Linked DNA regions of Homo sapiens: regions 2 and 3 are each linked to region 1. The links are contacts of gene promoters, found by promoter capture Hi-C in blood cells and fetal thymus (Javierre and others, 2016). All regions are on one chromosome and are shown on one strand. The core of a region is centred on a gene start or on the middle of the fragment in contact, and the rest is flanking DNA. Distances in the headings are between cores, read along the strand shown. Region 1 holds the start of TBX2 (T-box transcription factor 2). Region 2 overlaps BCAS3 (BCAS3 microtubule associated cell migration factor). Region 3 overlaps BCAS3 (BCAS3 microtubule associated cell migration factor).

Region 1 (4,389 bases), core at 1,000-3,499:
GGGCAGTGACCCGGGCAGGGGCACTCTGGGGGTTTGCCCAGCGCTTCCCCCTGGGAGATCCTGCCGCCCTGCTCTCCTGCTCAGCTGCAGTGCTGGGTCAACAAGCTCCTGCACCGTCCCCACCCTGCCCCAACACTCACGAAGCCGTGCTTGTCAGAGATGTTGTTGGTCAGCTTCAGCTTGTGGAAGGCCACAGGCTTAGCCATCCACTGCTCCCCCGTGGCTGGGCTGTCTGGGTGGATGTACATGCGTTTGGGCATCTCAGGGTCGGCCTTGCCCGCCACCATCCAGCGCGAGTTGTGGAACTTATAGCGGCAATCGTCAGCGGCTACAATGTCCATCAGCAGGATATACTTGGCCTTCTTGTCCAGGCCGCTGACTCGCACCTTGAAGGGGGGGAACATCCGCCTGGGAGGGAGGGAAGGGAGGAGATCCCATTGGAACCGGCTGTTCTAGGTTCCAGGACCCCACTCCTCCTTTATTTATCCCTCCTCGTTGCGCACACCGCTGCCGCCTGGCTGTTTCCCCTGTGGTCGGCTGCTCTGCCCTCTCATCACTGCCCGGACGACCCCACCTGTGGTTGTTGCTCCCAGGAGATCCCATTTCTGCCTGTCAGACCCTCTCCTAAACAGCCTCCTTTAGGCCTTGTGCTCAGATCTGGGGACCCTCTTTCTCCCTGATCTGAGATGAAAGCTGATGCCCAGGAGAGAAGTCTAGGCCCTCTAGAAATATTCTCGCTTCTCCTTAATCTCCCCGAAATTCGTTCAGGGGAAATACCCACTTGGGACGGAAGCTCCCAGAAATAAATCTGGAGGGTGTTTGTATTGGGAACTGGGCTACAGAGCCTGATAAGACATCCTGGCCGTGCAGTTCGGGGGAAGAGGGTGAACCCGAGGCCTGGATTCTCGGTGGCTGAGTCGAAGGGTGGAGGGGCCGGGGCTGTGGCTTTCTTCAGGCTTTAAGGCCTGGGGCGGCGGATGCGTCCAGGGCTCGGATGCCCGCGGTGGAGAAAGGGCTCCCAGCCCGGTGAGGCGGAGGGCTCGGCTGACCCGGGGCTCGCTGCCAGGAACCGAGCAACCAGCGTGGGGTTAGCTGGGCCCAGGTCCCACTAGGGGCTTCGGGGTCGGAGCAGAGTCTGAGAGAGGCTGAATTTCCCCCGAGCTCGGAGACGGACCCGGACGCAGAAGAGCGAGAGCGCGGGGCGGAGGAGACCGCCAGGGCCAAGCCGCGGGGCCTCCTCTGCGCTGGGACTCAGAACGGTTGGGGCTATTCTTTAGCAGTATGTTTTCGTTTTATTTCATTCGGAGGATTTTAGCGTTTTTGTTTTAAAAAAAAATCGCTCCGGTGCCAAACGAGAAAAGTCAACTTGGTTGTCCGTGGGAGCGAAGCGTGGCGTCAGGGCCAGAACCTGGAGCCGGGAGCCGGGAGCCGGGAGTCCCCAGCTCTGCTCTGATCCGTGCAGTCCCGTGCCCCAGCCCGCCCGCCCGCCCGCGCGCCTTCCAGCCGGCCGGCAGCCCTACCTCCCGGACTTGGTGATGACCATCTCCGTGCCTAGCTTGTGGAACTGGTCCCACAGCTCCTTGGCCTCCAGCGTCACCTTGGGGTCGTCCTCCACCTCGTCCTCGGGCTCCAGGCTCTTGAGGGAGCGCAGATGCGCGGCGGGCGGGTGCGGGCCCAGTGCCGAGACGTGCAGCCCCGCCTCGGCCGCTGCTGCCGCCGCCGCCGCCGCGGCCGCCGCCCCCGCCAGGCCCGGGTCGGGCAGCGGCTTGGCCAGCGCGCCGGGCGGCAGCGCGAGTGCCGGGAAGAAGGAGGGCTGCGCCGCCGCCAGAAAGGCGGACATGGGGAAGTCGGCGGGCCGTGGCGCGTGGAACGGGTGGTAAGCCATGGCGCTGGCCGCCAGCGCCGGCTCTCTCATCGGGACATCCGGCCCAGGCGCCCGGGGGCCGGGGCCGGGGCCGGGGGCGCGCGGCTCGGACCCCCGGCCCGGGCGGCGGCGCGCGCGGTGGACGGACGACCCGGGTGGCGGGCGCAGCAGCTGCTCCTCGGGGCTTCCCGTCCGGCGCACCGCAAGGGGCACCCGGCTCTGTGCGCGGGGGCGGCGGGGGCTCTGCGCGGGGCCGGGCTGGGCCGGGCTGAGCTGGCCCGCTCCGGCGCCGGGGACCACGCGCGACTGGTTAGATCTTGTCGTGATCTCTGGAAAACTGTGACTATCTCACATGTCCTGCCCAGCTCGGATCCCCTGCGCTAACGAGCCAGGCCCCCCTTGATTGCTGATTTTACGCTTTTTGGACCAATTGTGGGTCTCCGGGGGCGGGGTTTTGACAGCTCAGGCCAAGCTCCGGCCGGGAGGGGGGGCCTGGGAGAAGGTGTCGGAAGCCTCAGCAGTAAGAAAACATGTCAACAGAATAAAATATTAACCAATGACGGGCCGCCGGGCCCCGAGACCCCTCCTCCTGCCCCGGCCCCCACCGCCCGCCCGCGCCTGCGGCTGCCTGCGCCGGACTGGAGAGCGCGGAGGGCCGACCTGACCCGCCGAAAGGGCCTGAGGCGAGGGGAGCCCGGGTCCCGGGGCCTTGGGGAAGGACCCGCAGCCGCACGCCGGCCCCAAGTGCAAAGCATTGACACGACCCCGAGCGGAGAGGGGGCGCCCTCCTTCTCCCGCGCCCAGAGGCCCGGCCGCTCTGGCCCGAGCCCCAGCCTGGCCTCCGACCCAGCTCCGGGTCGTGGCGCCGCCTGGGGGTCCCTGCGCCCCGGAAAGAGACAGCAGGCACTGGAAAGCGAGGCCGGTGGGCGGGCGAGTCGGGAGGCTCGGGCGGCCGAGGTCCGGGAGCGGATCCCAGGTGGCGGGAGCTGGTGAGTGGAGCCATGGCCGAGCCCTGCTGGGGCCGGCGCGGGCGGGAGCGGGACGCGGCCTTGCGCTGGGGAAACGCGGGGACCCCCTACCCGCGCCCGCCTTCACCGGAAGACTCGGAAGGAACCTGGAGTTCTCCGCAGGCCCGGGCCCCGCCCTGAGCTTTCCAGCGGCCGGGAGGAGCGGATCCTCGGGGCCAGGAAGGTGAGCGCACCTTTCGCTGAGCACAGGGCGGCACCGCGCGGGCGGACCCCGGATTCTCCACCCGCGACCCAACGAATTTTCGCCCTATCCGGTACCGGAGACGAAAGTCTCCTTCTTCCGAAATACCGGCTTCCTCTCTTCGCCCTGCCAACCACTTTTTTAGTTTCTTCTCATCTCTCGGAAGCGCACGTCTCCTAAGTTAAGGAGTGCTGAGTAACGCGTGAGGGAGTTGGGGTGTCTGCGAGCACCTGTGATTGAAGCCCCCTCTTCTGTGATCAGTCTTCGTTTTCTGTCTTCCGGCAGCCTCAGTTTCCCCCCCATGAAGTGATGGTGTGTGTGTGTGTGTGTGTGTGTGTGTGTGTGTGTGTGTGTGTGTCGGGCCCCGTGTGGTGCCCTCTGTGCGCAGCGAGAGCTATAACTCAAGGTGTGCACGGGGAGAGTGAAGCGACCACGCACCTGCTTCCAATCGGGCTCGGGCGCGAACACTCAGGCTGATTCCTGAAGGTCGTTTTCTGAAGGAAAAGACAGAGCATGCACTAGCCACGGGTGACATTCCCACCCGTACAACCGCGTGGTGGGCGCGTACATCCAACATTGACCCATGCAGGCGCCCGCCCACTGCGCACACCGGTCGCAGGGCACTTCGTTGTTGAACGTTGGGAGCAGCGTTTGAAGGCCGGATCTCTCCTGGCAGTGCGGATTCGGGACCGGCGGAAGCAGTATGGCCTCTGCGACCGTTATCCCTACTTTTCGGGGCCGACCCCAGGGCCCTCACAACTCCTCATCACCGCATATGTGAGCGCCGCCCCCACAGGGTTTTCTCCACGACCTCGTTCTTGGCTAGGTCGCACCTCTCTTAGTACCTCCTCTCTGGCCAGAACGAATCTTTGACTCCGAGCTGCGCAGTCTACGCAGACGGGGCAGGATCCACTGCAGTTTTCCACAGGCAAATACCTGCTGGCTCCACCTTAGGCGAGATGTGGCCTCTCGGGGAGGGACCCGTTGTGGACACGTTTGCGCAGCCGGTGAGGTGACCAGATAATAACCAGGGCAGCTTTCCTTAGCCGGGAACCCAGGTACCGGCCTAGGAATCCGTGAATACATTCGCAAAGTCGCGCGCGCGCGCGCGCGCGTGTGTGTGTGTGTGTGTGTGTGTGTGTGTGTAGACACATACTTTTGTCCTTGTAAGAGTATGTGTACATCTAAATGTGTGCGTTTTAGACATTAGTCCATTTCATTAGTCCATCCATAGCTGGTCCAGGGGTCCGAGGCCTGAAGAGTTTGAAACACTCAGGCCTGGGTTATTTGACCGAGAAACCTGGCGGCGACAGTGC
Region 2 (4,389 bases), core at 501-3,000, 360 kb after region 1:
TCATATGATAGTTAAATATATGCTTAAAAAATCTAGAAACTAACAACTTCTATATGCACTGCTTCTTGAATCAACCCGAAAACCACTTACATATCACCCGTCTGTGATGCCATAGGCAACACACGTCACTGCTCTCACAGTTCAATTTATAACCCTCCACTGACACACCTACCCCACTTTATTTTACTTTTTTATTAAATGTCTATCTCCTGAATTAGGGAATTCATTGAGGAGAGAAGCAATATACTAATCACCTTTAAATCAGAACTGCCTCACACATAGTAGGCACTCAATAAAAATGCCCTAGAAAAAGCAGAGAGTTCAACAATAATATGAGAGAGCAAGACTGCCAACTATTGATTACAGTTATAGAGTTTCATAACTTGAGAGCAAAGTCTATAAAATATTTCTGTTTCCAGTATAATATATAGCACATTATAAAGATAAAATAAAATCATTCGACAACTATTTTAATTCATGCTTTCTAATATACCGGGCAAGACAATGTGTTAAATACAACAAAGTTTCATTAAAAACATGTCAATGTTGATTTTTAAGAATTTTCTTTAAAGCGTGCACTACTCAGAGCCATCAAATTAAATTAAGGATTCTGTCTATATCTACAAAACTGAATTATAATTGTAAATAATTTTTAATTCTATAAACGCAAACTGGATAATAAATACTAAATTGCCTTTAAATGACTCCCATATAAAAAGCTGTTATCTAGGTCAATGAACTTGGTTCAGTCTCTACAAATGCTCACGCTTAAACATATAAGTAAACAAACAAATTAACAAATGTAGTTGAAATCTTTACCTCATTATTGCAAGTAAAATTCTACCAAAAGAAAAGCCTGCTGGCATTGTTTTCATAGTTGCACTTTTAACTGTGCTAAGTTTTGGGGTTTTTTTTTTTCCATGTTAGAAACAGATTCCAAGCTTTATGAAACTTTTTATTATATCCTAGCATTTTCAGGTGGTGGTTTTTATGTTTGTTTGAATTTTTGAGCCCTCCAGATATTCCCTATCAACTTAACTTTTATTACAGAAATATATTTCATAGGTAAAGAATATAAGCAGTCAGAGACATAATGTATACTAAGGCTTACAGTTTATATTCATATTAAATATCTTATTTGCCTCAAACTGATTCTTTAAGGCCCATGGCCTATGGACCAGTGGTAATGTTTGCTTTCAAAGCTAGCATTTTAAGATGAAATCTGAATAGACCATACGAAAGGAAAAAAAAAATCTGAACTACTTACGGCCAGCAAGCAGGAACTGATAATACTGTACTGCATCTGCAGCGAGGAGCAGAGGGTGGTTTGCATTAAACGGTGGCTGCAATTCATTCCATTGAGGGGTTCTAAGGAAACAGGAGAAGAATATTAATATTTAAGCTTAATAGATGGGATGTAAATCACCATGACTGTCATCACTTATGAACAGTGACTTAAACTCACACTACTTTTGTGATCATTAAAATGAACTTGTAATCATTAAAATGAATGTGATGAAACCTGAAACACAAGGCCATCTGCTTAGAAAAAATAAAAAGGTGGCAGTCTTTCATACAAATAACATGCAGTCAATATAAGCTTAACAGCAGAAGACCCTCCAACAGGATAGGCAAGACATTCAGAAGATTAAACAGGTGTAAAATTCAAATGTTACAACTAACTAGTTCTAATTTATGTAATTTCTGACCTCTCTATTCTTAAAATATGTGTATATTTTAAAATAAAATGAAGTAGGTAAAAATGGTTAATAAAACACAGCTGTGTAAATGGATGACTTATTATAGATCAAATTAGCATCTGAGTTCTGAAATAAGTTACTATTTCAACAATGATAGTGTAGTAACTTTAATTAGATCTGCCCACTCCTAAATAAGCTTGATAAATCAGATATTGATCAGATCAATCCAGCATAGTAAAGTAGTAGTAAAGAATGCTGGAGCCTCCAAAAATCAATACAAGAATATTTTAAAATGTCAAAAGGACAGGGATCATTTTCATATCCATTTTTGTCTGTTTCCTTCCATACATGTCAGGAGCAATTTTTTCTTTCCTGGACAATGAACTATATTAAAGAGGTTTTATTCCAGGTTTTTTTTCCTTTTGGTTATAGCTTATAAAGATTCTAATCATTATGCACGTTTGAGATGGACTCTGATTCTTAATAAACATTCCTATAAGGCTTAACCACTGTATCTTGGAGAATTACTTTCAGAGAAACCTTTGAATCTATCTATATTAGTTTCTATTCCCCTTAATGGCTATCTCAATGTTACTCTCTATTTTCGGTGAGCATGAGATTGCAAATAGAGGAAGCATAAATCCAAGAAAATTTAACACAGAAGTGCAAGGGGGAAATAAGTTCAAACAGAGGTATTCTCCAAGGTACATACAGAAGACAATTAAAAAAATATGTTCATGGGCCGGCGCGGTGGCTCACGCCTGTAATCCCAGCACTTTGGGAGGCCGAGGTGGGTGGATCATGAGGTCAGGAGATCAAGACCATCCTGACTAACACAGTGAAACCCTGTCTCTAGTAAAAATACAAAAAATTAGCTGGCGTGGTGGCTAGTGCCTGTAGTCCCAGCTACTCAGGAGGCTGAGGTAGGAGAATGGTGTGAACCTGGGAGGTGGAGCTTGCAGTGAGCCGAGATCACGCCACTGCACTCCAGCCTAGGTGACAGAGCAAGACTCCATCTCAGGAAAAAAAAAAAATGTTCACACAAGAATCTGTACATGAATGTTCACAGCAACATTATTTAATAACAGCTTAAAAAGTAGAAATATCCATCAACTAATAAATGGATAAACAAAATGCAGTATAACCATATAATGGAGTATTATGTAGCCATAAAAAGGAGTGAAATTCTGACACACGCTACAACATGGATAGATCTTGAAAATATGCTAAGTGAAAGAAGCCAGACACAAAAGGTCACATATTATATGATTCCACTTACATGAAATGATCAGAGTAGCAAAATCCATAGAGAAAGAAAGTAAACTGGCTGCTGCCTAGGTCTGAAGGGTTGGAGAAAAATAAGGAGTGACTGCTAATGAGTATGAGGTTTCTTTTTAGGGTGATGAGAACTGATTGCAGTGATAAGTGCACAACTTTGTGAAAAGTCACTTTTAATGGGTTAATTTTATTGTATGTAAATTATGTCAAATGAAAAAGTAATGAAAGGCCAGGTGCTCATCCCTATAAAACCAGCACTTTGGGAGGCCAAGGCGAGTGGATCACCTGAGGTCAAGAGTATGAGACCAACCTTGACAACATGGTGAAACCCTATCTCTACTAAAAATTAGCCAGATGGGATGGCAGGCGCCTGTGGTCCCAGCTACTCAGGAGGCTGAGGCAGGAGAACCGCTTGAACACGGGAGGTGGAGGCTGCAGTGAGCTGAGATCGTGCCACTGCCCTCCAGCCTGGGCAACAGAGCGAGACTGTCTCCAAAAAAAAAAAAAAAAAAACAAAAACAAAAACAAAACAAAAAAAAGGAATGAAGTATTGTTTGTTTTGCTAGATGAAAGTGAGATTTAAGAAATTACATACTATATGATTCCATTTATATAAAATTCTAGAAACTGGGCCAGCACGGTTGCTCACGCCTGTAATTCCAGCACTTTGGGAGGCTGAGGCGGGCAGATCACGAGGTCAGGAGATCGAGACCATCCTGGCCAACATGGTGAAACTCCGTCTCTAATAAAAATACAAAAAAATTAGCTAGGTGTGGTGGCGTGTGCCTGTAGTCCCAGCTACTCAAGTGGCTGAGGCAGGAGAATCGCTTGAGCTGAGATCGCGCCACTGCACTCCAGCCTGGGTGACAGAGTGAGACTCCGTCTCAAAAAAAAAAAAAAAAAAATTCTAGAAACTGTAAACTAATCTGTAGAGACAAAGGGGGTGAAAGAAGGAGAGATTACAAAGGGTCACCAAGAAACATTTGAGAGTGATGTATTTGTTTACCATGTTAATTGTGGTGATGATTTCGTAGCTGTATGCATGTCAAAACTTATCAAATTATACGCTTTTAATCTTCTATACCTTAATGAAGCTGTTAAAAAGAAAAAAAGAAAAGAGGTACTACCTAACCAGAGTCCAGCTGGCTCGAGGCGATGTCATCATTTCCAGTGGTGTGTCGTCACTAATCTTGGGTGCAGTGCTGAGGGGTCGCGGCTCCATCATGTGTTCCACTAAGGTGCCATAGCAACTGATAATGTACAGGGACTCAACTACAACTTGTTTGGACTGATCTACAAACAGAGAAACAGAACCCGATGTGTTATGATGGCATAAATGGAGCACAGAATAATTTTTACAAGTTAATGATCTTATTAGTCTGCTCCTGAGGCTGCTCAGAGAAAATGAAAA
Region 3 (4,389 bases), core at 1,317-3,816, 340 kb after region 1:
AAGTAAGTCCACACTATTTTAAAGAATTGTATCATAACTATAAAGTACCTTGCTTATAGCTTGTGAATAACAACTGTTGTCTTATCATGGGTTATATAATCTGGCCAGACTCATATGTAACAATAAGAGCATTCTTATTAAAGCTTACCTTTACAGGAGTATAGAATACAATACATTACTAATAGTAGTTGCCTCCTGGGAGGGGATGAGGTTAGTTGGGAGATACGGAGGATTTATTTTCCACTGGATATTTTTTGTTACCTTTTAAACCGTGTATATCATGTTTATAAAATAAACATGATATAAAAATTCATATTTAATTAAAAGTTGTGGAATAGGAACAATACAATTGATACAGATGGTGCAGCACACCATAGTCAATATATGCAAGCAAACAAATCAGATATATATCAACAGAAGTTGGAAAACGATAAACAAAATAAAAGTTGACCTTATTGCATAGTGGGTTATGTGTTTTTCCCCCTATTTTTAGATTCAGTAACTTTTTAAAGGGGGTGTGCTACTTCTAACTTGCTTATGCATAATGTCTCCGTATCTGTTTATTTATCATTATCTCTGTATTTATACACACAAATATCAAACATAGGACCAGCTTTATCAACTGCTCAAACACGTTGTTTTTTTGTTCAGAAGAATGATTATTTGCTGAAAGCATCCTAAGCTAAATTCTGTGTAGAATTATGAGTTGTAATGCTTCAACAGTAGCAACGGTATTCTCACAGCCAAACCTGAATGTTAGATGCATTTCTTTCAGGAATAATCAATTCTCCATTATAAATTCAAGGAACACTCTAAAATATACTTGATAAGATACTAGGATGAGTAGAGCATATATGGAACCTACTGTAAATTGATGTTGTAAAGGTAAATAATCACTATTTTTGGTCATTAAATTGTGTGCAGTAATCGATGTACCCATCTGTACATGTAGGCAATAGGACAGTGATTGAAAACTTACTGTTCTTGACTCCATCTACAATGGCACAGTTGAATAGCAAAGGCTCTAATGTAGTATTCAGTCTAGCATCTACACTAAGCCCTGACAAACAACAACAAAAAAGCAGGCGAGGATGGGGGGTGATGTTTGCAAATGTAAAAATGGCAAAAATAATTTTTTTTTGCAAAGACTTAATGTGGTTTTTTCATGTTTCATTTATTTATTATCTAGTTACATACTAGGAAAATCCACATCATTATGCAGCAGGAAGAATTACATACAGATTTTCTCTTGCCTAAGCAAAAGAGGCAAAGTTGCCCTGGCATGGAGAGACAAAAGCTTTTAGACCTGGAAGGCACCAAACATTTTCACCCTATAGTTAGGAAAATAATCTAAAATCTTCTTAAATGATCATTAAGCATTCATGATGTTTTCCATATTTTAACTCTAAATTAATCAGAAAATTCTCAAAACCGAGAGGATAGGGGAAAGCATGAGACAGAGAACACAAGCCCACAACTACTGCAGGGTTTTCTTTAACTTTCCAAAAGTAAGAAGAGCATTTTCCAGGCTTGATCTTCCTTGCCTACTCCACAACGTCAAACTACTAAACAGAGATCTCCACAAATCACTGTCCCTGCCTCACCTGTTTTACGTAATGGTGGGGAGTTGTGATCTTTAAAAAGTCTTTATAATCAGATGTATAGTGAAGAATCATGGGTAAAAAGACACAATAGTGAATGACTTTCTTAGGATACTTTGTGGTAGAATGTTGTAAATTGTTGAAACTTGGTAATTGGTAGATTCCTTATACAACTAACTGTGTACTATGTACGTCTAACGTTTCTCCAATAATTTTTTTAAAAACTATTTTATGAATGTTTCAAAAGATTGAACAACCATTTCTTGACCTGCAGACTGACAGAGAGTCATCTTGACTCTTCTTGGCTAGGGTGTGGAATACATGAAGTATTCAGGATCATTCAGTGAGTGATAATTTAAAAAATCATAGTAATACTTTTCTAGAACAGGTTTTTTTTCCCACATAACACTATATGTATCATCCATGTTAATACATTTAGGTCTGGTGGCCGGGCGCAGTGGCTCGCGCCTGTAATCCCAGCACTCTGGGAGGCCAAGCGGGGTGGCTCATGAGGTCAGGAGATCGAGACCATACTGGCTAACACGGTGAAACCCCGTCTCTACTAAAAATACACAAAAAAAAAAAAATTAGCCGGGTGTGGTGGTGGGCGCCTGTAGTCCCAGCTAGTCAGGAGGCTGAGGCAGGAGAATGGCGTGAACCTGGGAGGGGGAGCTTGCAGTGAGCCAAGATTGCGCCACTGCACTCCAGCCTGGGCGACAGAGCAAGACTCTGTCTCAAAAAATAAAAATAAAAATAATAAAAAAAATATATTTAGGTCTGGTTTACTTTCATTACTGTATACCATTTTATTTTCATCTTGTATAACAAAGTGAGGTAGTTCTTTTCCCCTGCATTTTCTTCCTTCCTCACTCCCTTCTTTCTTTCATTTTCACTTTCTCTCTTTCCCACTCATTTTTTCCTTCCTTCCTAGGTTCAAGAGATTGTCCTGCCTCAGCCTTCCCGAGTGGCTGGGATTACAGGCACGCGCCACCACGCCCGGCTAATTTTTGTGTTTTTAGTAGAGACAGGGTTTCACCATGTTGGCCAGGCTGGTCTAGAACTCCTGGACTCAAGCGATCTGCCCAACTTGGCCTCCCAAAGTGCTGGGATTACAGGTGTGAGCCACCGTGCCCAGCCAGTAAAATTTCTTTCTATAGCTTTGAAAATGTGCCCAATATTAGAGCCATACTTGTCCAGCTGACCACTGAAGATCAGAGGAGATATAATACAAACGCTTTCTCTTCACAACAAAGTATGTTCACCTGTGCCACCTGGCAGTATCTGTCATAAAGTAGGTGGAATCATGAGAAGCAAGAAAGACCTCACGGAAGAAGGGTATTCATTCTCACACAACTAAGTACAACCACCAGCTATCATTAGTGAGTTTCTTTTTTCTATCCAAGCTCTTGGGTAAGCCTTTTTGGATCAATTATCTCATATTATCTAACAATGATCCTGTAAGGTAGGTATTATTAATACCCATTTTAAAGACGGGGAGAGGCCAGGTGCAGTGGCTCACGCCTGTAATCCCAGAACTTTGGGAGGCCAAGGCAGGCGGATCATGAGGTCAGGAGATCAAGACCATCCTGGCTAACACAGTGAAACCCCATCTCTACTAAAAATACAAAAAATTAGCCAGGCGTGATGGCGGGCGCCTGTAGTCCCAGCTACTCGGGAAGCTGAGGCAGGAGAATGGTGTGAACCCAGGAGGCAGAGCTTGCAGCGAGCCGAGATTGTGCCACCGCACTCCAGCCTGGGCAACAGAACGAGACTCTGTCTCAAAAAAAAAAAAAAAAAAAAAAAAAAAAAAAAAAAAAGATGGGGAGAAAAAAGAGTTCGGGGAGGTTATCTGCCTAAAGCTGTACAGATAGCAAGTAGCAGAGACAGAGTTCAAATTCAGGACTGCTGACTCTAAAGATCACATTCTTCACCTTAAGCAAAATCACCTCACCTCAATTTATCACTTCATTACCTACTAAGTTCATTATTTTAAGTTAAATTTATCATATAAAACATGTAAGAGATTTTTATCCCCAAACGTCAATTATATCATTGATTGAGAGTCTGTTGTTTGTCTATTCAATGTCTGCTTCACTTAATATAATCTTTTCTATAATCATAATAAACAGTTATGTATCCTGATCAGAGATACCTATACTGTGATCAAACAATGGGGAAAAATTACTTTAACCAGAAGTCACAACACAAGGTTACAGACATTGAAGGAAGCTTCACATGCAGTGAGAGAAACAATCAAAGTGCTACTTTACATACACTATAATACCTCTGATTAAAATTTTTCATCGTAGAAAATACTGGTTTGTTGGTTTCATATTTAAAGGTGTACATGATGCAACCACGGATGACATGCTAGCATCTAGAAAAGAGCACAGAAATCAGCCGAGTGACCAAGAAAAGAAAAAAACGCTATCCTCAAAAAATCCCCAAATCTCAGCTTTGACCAGATTTCACATCATATAGGGTTGTTACAGATGTTCTTCACAAAGTCATAAAATACAAAGAAAGCGTAGTATAAAAGACAAGAAACTGATGGCATAAAGGCACTGAAGGCAATATGGTGTTTCTGGTCCCCTGCCAAGTTCCACAGAATCATATGGCCAAAAGTCTCCTATCCTATGACAACAATAAGGGGAAGAAGAGACTGAAGCTGCAGAGAGACAATCTGTGGCACTCACCCACCAACCTTATGCCTCGGTTACTGGGCTGGTTACTTTCAGTAAGAAAAATCAAGAGAGAAAAATTTTTTCAAAGAAAGAGAAACTCAGTA

What was found. The method cuts DNA at HindIII sites, captures the fragments that hold promoters and counts their contacts. A CHiCAGO score of 5 or more calls a contact.
Region 2: a fragment that was not itself captured here is called in contact with the fragment with the promoter of TBX2 in region 1 in 6 of 17 cell types (M1 macrophages, endothelial precursors, megakaryocytes and 3 more); the score reaches 7.7 in M1 macrophages.
Region 3: a contact is called between a fragment that was not itself captured here and the fragment with the promoter of TBX2 in region 1, in 2 of 17 cell types (M1 macrophages and naive CD4 T cells). The highest score is 6.4, in M1 macrophages.

The regions. Positions count from the first base shown.
Region 1 is chr17:61,397,703-61,402,091 of GRCh38, reverse strand. It overlaps TBX2 (T-box transcription factor 2), which reads right to left and starts at 2,249. Exons shown (of 7, transcript NM_005994.4): 1 at 1,521-2,249; 2 at 141-408. The coding sequence starts at 1,915. TBX2-AS1 (TBX2 antisense RNA 1) reads left to right here and starts at 2,486. Exons shown (of 2, transcript NR_125751.1): 1 at 2,486-2,853. RefSeq lists a cis regulatory region at 2,165-2,176 and promoters at 2,165-2,412, 2,032-3,292. The HindIII fragment of the contact is 11,976 bases long and covers 1-4,389 here.
Region 2 is chr17:61,037,771-61,042,159 of GRCh38, reverse strand. BCAS3 (BCAS3 microtubule associated cell migration factor) reads right to left here. Exons shown (of 24, transcript NM_017679.5): 18 at 4,106-4,271; 19 at 1,268-1,368. All of the region lies in intron 4 of BCAS3-AS1 (BCAS3 antisense RNA 1), which reads left to right. Among named protein-coding and RNA genes, the nearest start is that of BCAS3-AS1, 96 kb to the left of the region's middle. The HindIII fragment of the contact is 296 bases long and covers 1,603-1,898 here.
Region 3 is chr17:61,058,093-61,062,481 of GRCh38, reverse strand. The region is part of intron 19 of BCAS3 (BCAS3 microtubule associated cell migration factor); the gene reads right to left. The region is part of intron 4 of BCAS3-AS1 (BCAS3 antisense RNA 1); the gene reads left to right. Among named protein-coding and RNA genes, the nearest start is that of BCAS3-AS1, 76 kb to the left of the region's middle. The HindIII fragment of the contact is 2,533 bases long and covers 1,300-3,832 here.